2 separate regions of the Homo sapiens genome follow, and region 1 is linked to region 2. Evidence: promoter capture Hi-C in 16 types of primary human blood cells and fetal thymus (Javierre and others, 2016). All regions are on one chromosome and are shown on one strand. Each heading gives the region's core, a stretch centred on a gene start or on the middle of the fragment in contact. The rest is flanking DNA. Distances are from core to core; before and after follow the strand shown.

What was found. The method cuts DNA at HindIII sites, captures the fragments that hold promoters and counts their contacts. A CHiCAGO score of 5 or more calls a contact.
Region 1: a fragment that was not itself captured here is called in contact with the fragment with the promoter of OR10G2 in region 2 in 1 of 17 cell types (activated CD4 T cells); the score reaches 6.0 in activated CD4 T cells.

Annotation. Positions count from the first base shown.
Region 1 is chr14:22,621,259-22,626,275 of GRCh38, forward strand. No RefSeq gene overlaps it. Among named protein-coding and RNA genes, the nearest start is that of OR6J1, 21 kb to the right of the region's middle. The HindIII fragment of the contact is 2,566 bases long and covers 976-3,541 here.
Region 2 is chr14:21,632,288-21,637,126 of GRCh38, forward strand. OR10G2 (olfactory receptor family 10 subfamily G member 2) reads right to left here and starts at 2,653. Exons shown (of 1, transcript NM_001005466.2): 1 at 1,549-2,653. The coding sequence starts at 2,555. The coding sequence ends at 1,623. It also overlaps TRA. The HindIII fragment of the contact is 5,968 bases long and covers 1-3,115 here.

The sequences.
Region 1 (5,017 bases), core at 1,009-3,508, 990 kb after region 2:
TCCACCCAGATCGAGCTTCCCGGCCACTTTGTTTACCTACTCAAGCCTTGGCAATGGCGGGCGCCCCTTCCCCAGCCTCACTGCCACCTTGCAGTTTGATCTCAGACTGCTGTGCTAGCAATGAGTGAGGCTCCGTGGGCATAGGACCCTCCAAGCCAGGCACGGGATATAATCTCCTGGGGTGCAGTTTGCTAAGACCATTGGAAAAGCACAGTTTTAGGGTGGGAGTGACCCAATTTTCCAGGTGCCGTCTGTCACCTCTTTCTTTGACTAGGAAAGGGAATTCCCTGACCCCTTGCACTTCCCAAGTGAAGCGATGGCTTGCCCTGCTTCGGCTCACGCTCGGTACGCTGCACCCACTCTCCTGCACCCACTATCCAACACTCCCCAGTGAGATGAACCTGGTACCTCAGTTGGAAATGCGGAAATCACCCGTCTTCTGCGTCTCTCACGCTGGGAGCTGTAGACTGGAGCTGTTCATATTCGGCCATCTTGGCTCCACCCCAAGTGTTTTTCATAGTATAAGTTCAGCATTGTTATGCTAGACAGATCTTTGTCATCATCCTGCTAAATATCACTCTTCACTAGGGTTAAGGAGGAAAGACCTTCCTCATTCCTGGAGAGAATACTAAGGAGGATTAACAGATGTCAGCAGGTGCACAGAGTCTGTTCCCCAACCCACAAGGACCCCATTATCTTGGTTGGTGACTCTGCTAAAGGCCTAGGAGATCTGTAGACTTCACCTTACTGATGGCTGATGCTCCTTCTTCCTGGAATATTCTGAGGCCTAATGGAGAGTTTGTGATAATTCAGCAACCACATATTTTAGTTGGTATATATGTGTCTTAGTCTGTTTCTTCTGCTATAAAGGAATACCTGAGGCCAGGTAATTTATAAAGAAAAGAAAACCTGTCAGTTCTGCAGGCTGTACAAGAAGCATGGCATCAGCATCTGCTTCTGGTGAGGGCCTCAGGAAGCTTCCACTCATGCTGGAAGGGTAAGGGGAGCTGGAGTGTGCAGAGATCACATGACAAGGCAGCGCAGGCCAGAGAGAAACAAGTGAGGTGCCAGGCTTGTTTTAACAATCTCTCCCAGGCACTGCTAGAACAAGAACTCACTCATAACCACACAGACAGCACCAAGCCATTCATGAGGAATCTGCCCCATGACCCAGACACCTCCCATTAGGCCCCATCTCAACATTGGGGATCAAATTTCAACATGAGATTTGAAGAGTCAGATATCCAAACTATAACAATATGAGAACAAATCACACACAACCAGAAGAATCCTGAGACATGCTAGTGGCTGAAAAGGATCCTGAAGGATATGGCGTTAGAGGTGATATTTTCATCTTCTCAGTTTGACCAGCTGACACCATGTGTTGTGTCTGGGAAAAGAATTTTTGAGAGGGCTCACAACTTATGATAGATTTATGGGCCTCTGATAAATTATGAGGTAACTAACACAAAAACTGGGCATCATGTACTTTCTAAAATGTTCAAGGAAAGTGTCCAAATGTAACTGCAAAACCATATATTATAGCAGTGGCTTCCTACATAGATCCACAGACTGGAGCTGGTCCATGATAAAGTATTTCTGGTTCATAACAAAATAGTGCCTTTTTTTTTTTAGTATTTTTAAATTCTGAAATTATATCCTTTCTAACCCTTTCAGGATTAAACTATTGTTATTTTATAAAAAGATGCTGATATTCTACGATTGTTTGGGGGTGAGAGGGAATGTCATTTTTTGTTTCCAAACATATCAATTTTAGAATTTTTTCCTGTATTTGTAATTAATATTATTAAAATCCTAAAGTCTGGGGAGTGCTGGCTATATTACAGAAGACCAGAGTGGGAGAGGAACTTGAATTTTATGACAAGAAGATAGATAAGTCAATCATGTGGATCCCATGACTGGAGGGGACCGTGGAAAGATAACGCTGTTCAGAGGAAGTGAATCTAATTGAAGGGACTCAACAATAGCATGTATGCCAAAAAGGAAACCACAGAACTGAAGGTGGAAATGTTTGGATGGGGATAAAAGGAGAAACAAACAGAAATAGATACTAAGATAATTGGAGGACACAGATGCTGCTTTCTTAGTTCAGACTGCCAAACATCAAAAGCAAGTTACAGTAGTGCCAGAGGTCTCCAAGAATCAGGACACTAACATGAGTCTCTTTCTGCCAGAAGCAGAGCACCTAGTAAATTCTTGCTCTACTCACAATTGCGTTTACTAGAATATTGAAAAAAGATTGTCAGATGTAATTTTTATAGATTTCAGGAAGTCAGATTTCAGAATGTTCCAAGGAAAATTATCTATAGTGCTTAAAAGGGACAGGGCATTCTCAAACATGAAGTTTCAATTGTATCTCAAAGGGTCCTGCTGAGGAAGAATGAAGCGGCTTCAGCAATCAGAAAGCGGCTGCACAGGTTGTTTTCTGATATGATCAAAGTGTGGGCAGAGATGAATGTCAAGTCTTTCACATGAGAAAAATGAACCTCGGCCGAGTGTGGTGGCTCACGCCTGTAATCCCAGCACTTTAGGGGACTGAGGCAGGAGGATCGCTTGAGCCCAGGAGTTCAAGACCAGCCTGGGCAATATGGCAAGACTCCATAGCTAAAAGTAAAAATAAAAATAAAAAATTTAATTAGCTGGGCATGGTGGCATGTGACTGTAGTCCTAGCTACTCGGGAGGCTGAGGCAGAAGGATTGCTTGAGCCCAGAAGTTCAAGGCTGCAGTGAGCTATGAAGCTATGGAGTGCCACTGCACCACAGCCTGGGCAACACAGTCAGACCATGTCTCCAAAAAAAAAAAAAAAAAAGATAGAAAAAAATGAACCAAACTAGTAAAGCAATGGCAGTTGATGTGAAAAGATTAAACCGATGTGAAGGTTTTAGTGGGCTAGAAGCTCTGTTTATGGCAGTAAAGGAATGAAGCTGCCCCAAAAGCTAATGGAAAGCTAGGTCTCATTCCCTGCATTGATTGGGGGACTCAATGGTTTCACTGTAACCTGATTTGAGTGTTGGGTTCAATTCTGAGAACATTTTTCCTTTTTTTAAATGTAAACAAAAATTTTTAATTGTACAAAAATAAGACAAAATTAAAAACACTTTTTAAAAAATCTATAATTATACTACCCACAAATAACCATGTTAAATACATTGGAATATATTCTTTCAGATGATATATATGTTATTATATACATAAATGTATATTTACTAGAATGAGAGCATACTAACAAAGTGCTTTATAAAAATTTTTAACCTTATTGTTATAAATCTCTTTCTATACCAATAAATATAGAATCCATAGAAATATATCATCATTTTTAACTGTTGCATCTTCTTCCACTGTCTGGATTTACTATAGTTCATTTACCTGCTTCTCTGTTCTTGGACTTTAAATTGCTTCCAAATATTTGTATGTTATAAACAATGTGCGCTAAGTCCCTTGTACGTACATATTTGCATATTTGACCAATTATTTCCTTCCTTGAGGTAAGATTGCAGGATTGAAGGGTTTGCAAAATGAAGCTTTTTTTTTTTATTTTGAGACAGAGCCTCACTCTGTCACCCAGGCTGGAGTGCAGTGGCGCGCTCTCGGCTCAGTGCAATCTCCACCTCCTAGGTTCACGCAATTATCTTGCCTCAGCCTCTTGAGTAGCTGGGATTACAGGCACACATGACCCTGCATGGCTAATCTTTTTGTATTTTTAGTAGAGACAGGGTTTTGCCATGTTGGCGCTGGTCTCGAACTCCTGACCTCAGGCAATCCACCCTCCTCGGCCTCCCAAAGTGCTGGGATTACAGGCATGAGCCACCACGCCCGGCAAAATAAAGCTTTTTGATAAGCAATGAGAATAGTTTATAACAAGTGATCAGAAAAAGAAAAGCAACCCAGAGAAAAATAAATGTTTTATTTTTGTGTACATGGCAAGAAATATGAATAAGTAATTTACAGAAGAAGATATGCAAATGACCAATGAATGATCGCTTCTCGGCCTTTTGGCTCTGATAAAGTGTACAAATGACCAATGAAGCCGGAACCAGTGGCTCATGCCTGTAATCCCAGCACTTTGGGAGGCCAAGGTGGGTGGATCACCTGAGGTCAGGAGTTCGAGACCAGCCTGGCCAACATGGTGAAACCTCGTCTCTACTAAAAATACAAAAATTAGCCGGGTGTGGTAGCAGGTTCCTGTAATCCCAGCTACTTGGGAAACTGAGGTAGAAGAATCGCTTGAACCCGGGATGCAGAGGTTGCAGTGAGCCGAGATCATGCCATTGCATTCCAGCCTGGATGACAACAGCAAAACTCCATCTCAAAAAAAAAAAAAAAAAAAAGAGGCCAGATGTGTTGGCTCATGCCTGTAATCCCAGCACTTTGAGAGGCCAAGGGGTGGATCACCTGAGGTCAGGAGTTCATGACCAGCCTGGCCAACATGGAGAAACCCTGTCTCTACTAAAAATACAAAAATTAGCCGAGCATGGTGGTTCATACCTGTAATCCCAGCTACTCGGGTGGCTAAGGCAGAATAATTGCTAGAACCAGGGAGGCAGAGGTTGCAGTGAGCCGAGATCCTGCCATTGTACTCCAGCCTGGGTGACAAGAGCAAAACTCTGTCTCAAAAAAAAAAAAAAAACACCAATGAACATATGAGAAGATACTCAACCTCACTAGCAATAGAAGAAATACATAACAATAAGATACTATTTTTTACATGCAGGTTGACAAAAATTTTAAAGATTGACAATAGCTAGTAATGGCAAAAAGTGAAGAAGTTGGATTTTTTATACAATGTTGGTGGGAGAGGAAATTGTTTCCACATTTTTGGAGGCAACTTGGCAGAATTTATCAAAATAATTACTGAAATTTAAAATGGTCCTACACTATTAGCCATAAGTCCTAATAGCAGGAATTTATGCCAAAAAAATTTAGCACCAGTAACAAAATAGAAGAAATGTGTGTTCATTGGTTATAAATGTGACATCTAAAAATGAATTATGGAAT
Region 2 (4,839 bases), core at 1,403-3,902:
TAGTCCCAGCTACTCGGGAGGCTGAGGCAGGAGAATGGCGTGAACCCGGGAGGCGGAGCTTGCAGTGAGCCGAGATCGCGCCACGGCACTCCAGCCTGGGCGGCAGGGCGACACTCCATCTCAAAAAAAAAAAAAAAAAAAAAATTCAGCAGCAAATATTGATTTCTGTGTCTGCTCGTAGTTATTAGGCAATAGAGGCAGACAAACACAAATGAATGCTTTATGTCCTTTGAGGGCTCACAATCCATTTGAAGTGGAAAGAGAGATAAATTCCTTTTTTTTTTAGACTTTTTTTTTTTTTTTTTTTTAGATGAAGTCTGGTACTGTCACCTAGGCTGGAGTGCAGTGGTGCAATCTCCGCTCACTGCAACCTCTACCTCCTGGGTTCAAGCAATTATCCTGCCTCAGCCTCCCAAGTAGTTGGGATTACAGGTGCATGCCACTATGCCTGGCTAACTTTTTATATTTTTAGTAGAGATGGGGGTTTCACTATGTTGGCCAGGCTGGTCTTGAACTCCTGACTTCGTGATCTGCCCACCTCGGCCTCTCAAAGTGCTGGGATTACAGGCGTGAGCCACTGCGCCCGGTAGGAGATAAATTCTTGACTGTAATACGTGACAGACTGGGGCAAGGTCTATACTAAAGAAGCCATGGCAATACCAGGGAAGAGGAGTTAAGTCCTGCCTGGGAAAAACAGATGAGGAAGTATTTAATATGGATCTGAAGGAAGCATAAATTGTCACTTGGTCAATATGGAGAGGGAGGACTTATATTCCAGGCAGAGAAGAGAGCTTGAGCAAAAGAGTACAGGCAAGTATAGAGCATGCTCACGGAACGGCAATAAATCAGTGAGGGTGGGAGAGGGAAGCAGAGGAAATGGCTTAAGAGAACATGTATGTGAAGCCAAGATTGCATTGGATTTTGAATTCCAGATTAAGGAGCCTGGCCTTATTCATTCTACCTTCGCCGAAGAGTCCTACAGATTCTGTGTTTCAGAGGGTAATTTTGATTGTGGTCTAGATGAGGAAGAACTAGTCAAGAATTAAGAGAGACAGTCTACACTGAATCAGTTTGAGCTGGTTTCATAGTTTTGAGGAGACAGAATCTGATGTGTTAGCACATCACGAGGGCGAGGGACAGGAAGAAAACACAAATAATCCAGAATTTTCAAGTTCAAGTGCTTGGAAATATTCATGCCATGCACAAGCAAAGAAATGGAATTTAGAGGGGTCTAGGATTAGGAGCAAAGACAATGAAACAAGGGGTTATGGAGCCCCCTTTTTACTCTTTTCAAATTTTCTGGCATGATATACTTTCTAAGACATTGACACATTCTCATCTTATTCAACCTTTGGTAAGGCATTTTCTCATCTCACAAGATAGAGGTGATAGAAATAATGTATCCATTTATTTCTAAAAGATTATGTAAAACAACCTGAACCAGTTTAATTAGGGGAAAAGATTTTGGGTCGAAATAATTCAGAATTTTCTGCCAAAGAAAATGAAAATAAATTCACTTTAAATCCTTAGCAGTTTATTGGGCATTTGTCACATGCAGCAGTAGCTGAAGAGAGTGGCAGTGATAATGATGCAGATGTAGTTACTTATTTTCATTCAGTCCTTCAACCTGCTGTTATCCTCTTCAGGGCAGACTTCACTTCCTGGTTCCTCAGTGTATAGATGAGGGGGTTCAGTAATGGAGTGACAACAGTGTAAAACACAGCCGCTGCCCCATCCAGGGGGTCTTTGGAGCCAGCCCTAAGGTAGATGAAAATACAGGGGACATAGTAGACTGTGACCACGATTAGGTGGGAGCCACAGGTGGAGAAGGCCCGGCGCCTCCCATCAGTGGTGCGTATCTTCAGGATGGCATTTACTATGTTGGCATACGAGAGCAGAATTAACATGAAGCAACTGGCGGCCACTACCCCGACGTCCACAAAGGTCACAAGCTCATTGACAGTTGTGTCAGCACAGGCCAGTCTCAATACTGCGGGGATGTCACAGATAAAGTAATCCACCTGATTGGGCCCACAGTAGGGCAGGCGGAAGGTCAAGGTGGCCTGGATAGACCCATGCATGGAGCCGGCGACCCAAGCTCCAGCCACAAGGACTGTGCATAACCTCCCATTCATGAGCACTGGGTAGCGCAGGGGCTGACATATTGCCAGGTACCTGTCATAGGCCATCAAGGTGTAGAGGAAGCACTGGGTGCTGCCCAGGAAGTGAAAGAAATACAGTTGAGCCACACAGCCACCAAACGGGATAGCCTTGATGGAAGGAGTAAAATCCAAAATAAGCAGAGGAACGGTGACTGAGGAGAGCCACATGTCCAGGAATGAGAGCACTCCCAGAAGAATGTACATGGGGCGAGCACAGAGCTTCGGGTCAGCCCACATGGTGAGCAGAATGAGCAGGTTCCCCAGCTGAGTGAGGATGTAAATGATGAAGAAGACCAGGAAGAGGAGGCTTCTTAGATTTGGGGGGTGAGACAAACCCAGAAGAATGAAATCTGTCACCACGGCATCCAGCGATGTGTTTTTGGTCTTTCCCATGTCTTTTTGTAGTCTGCTAAGATGAATGGTGACGTTTGACAAGAGAAACACAGCACAATGATGTTGTAAGTGAATGCTTTTGTCGGATGATTGATGCCTAGGAATTATGAGATAAACAAGATAGAGTCAAATTGTTTTTTAAAAGAGGAGGTGGTGTCACCATTAGTTATTTAGGTTTACTTAAAAGGAGAAGTCCTCCAGAGGCTGGTTAGTTTCCTAGATGGGAGGAAACTCTTGTCCATTGAGAGATACTGAAAGCCAGGATTTGCCAGATGAAGGAAGAGGGACACATGAGAGTGATAGAGAAGTACCGAAAATTCCAACCAAAAAGTGAGTTCGCCAAGGAGGGGCTAAAGTTGATGCAGAGCAGTGTGGAACAAACACCCTATAATGACCACATCTACTTTTTCTTCACCTACTATCATTGTCCCCTTTTTCCTCAGCTAAAATCTCATCTCCTTAACATATCATGCAAAAATATTCCTCATCTGGCCCTTATTTATATCGCTATTGTACCACTTGTAATTCCTTCTTATTGTTGGGAGGCATGACACTCTTCAAGCTTCTCACAGTAGTGTGCTCTAACTTGGGACTTACGCACACACTATCTTTTCTGCTCCCTTCACATAGGTAGTGCCCACTTTTCCTTCAGGATTCAGTTTGAGTGTCTTCACCTTCAAGAAGGCTTTCCGGATCCCTGAGGACAATGCTTATACTTTTCTGAGCACGTACATTATGTTGCATTGTCTAATTTCTGTTTTTCTCTCTTAATAATCATCCCGTCTAGCATGCTAAAAGTGATAAATACCGTAATTATTTTCTGAATGACTGAGATAGATAGAATGGATGTTGCCAAATCCCCCTGACTGAATACATTGTTTCTCTTGATCTTTTTTGTCTGACCCCTGTGCTCACATGGCTGGGACTTTTAGGTCAAGGGACCACCTCATTCACCATGTAATATGGGTATAATTTCATTATAAAAAACTCCAAGAAACATTTATGCCTGTTTTTGCTCCAGGATATCATTTAGATTTATTTGTTGATTTATATGGTTCATTGGTTTGGGATTGGGTTTTTTTTTTGGTATGAGGTCACAGAGGAATTTTTATTGTTTGTTATAAAATCATTGATTAATGCAGGACTTGATCTTTAGTGTGCTTGTGTGTAATATCTATGTATTGCAGTCTATCAAACAGCAACTCTCTCTAAAGACATTTACAGATTTTCAAGTATCTGAACAAGATGATAAAATAGAGGGATGGAATGTGTTTGTTTCACTCTTTTTGTTAAATAGGTTGCTTGATAAAGACTTTTCGCTCTATATATGGTTTGAGATGCATTTATCTTTCATTTAACTACAAAATATCTTTGTAATGCAAATGACTACTTTCATAAAGCAATTAAAATGACAATAGATTATTATAAATAACATGTGAATATTAATAAGTTTAATCTCTATCGGAAATTCTCCAAAGAGATTTTATCTTAAGTATTCTGTGAAATAACTTAATTCATATGTTAACATTCAAGAGTTATTAGTAGTAATAATAATAATACTGAATATATCTGGCTCTTCGAAGTCTGGAAAATGTTAAACTTGTCCTTTGCCCACCAAGAACGAAGAAATATCAGATTTTTATTGCCTGAGTTTCAGGAGGACACTTTGATTTATTTGAAAATGGATGGGAAAACTAAATCTTATTTTTGTGGTTAGAATATAGAGAAAAGAGGCTGGGCGTGGTGGCTCACGTCTGTAATCCCAGCACTTTGGGAGGCCGAGGCAGGCAGATCATGAGGTCAAGAGATGGAGACCACCCTGACCAACATGGTGAAACCCTGTCTCTACTAAAAATACAAAAAAATTAGCTGGGTGTGGTGTCGGGCGCCTGTAGTCCCAGCTACTCGGGAGGCTGAGGCAGGAGAATCTCTTGAACCCGGGAGGCGGAAGTTGCAGTGAGTGGAGATCGCACCACTGCACTCCAGCCTGGTGACAGAGAGAGACTCTGTCTCAAAAAGAAAAAAAAAAAATGAATATAGAGCAAAGATAGAAAGAGTTGAGATTAAAATGGTGCATAAAATACTAATTATGGCCAGGCGCGGTGGCTCATGCCTGTAATCCCAGCACTTTGGGAGGCCAAGGTGGGTGGATCACGAGGTCAGGAGATTGAGACCATCCTGGCTAACACGGTGAAACCCCGTCTCTACTAAAAATACAAAAATTAGCTGGGTGTGGTGGTGGGCGCCTGTAGTCCCAGCTACTCGGGATGCTGAGGCAGGAGAA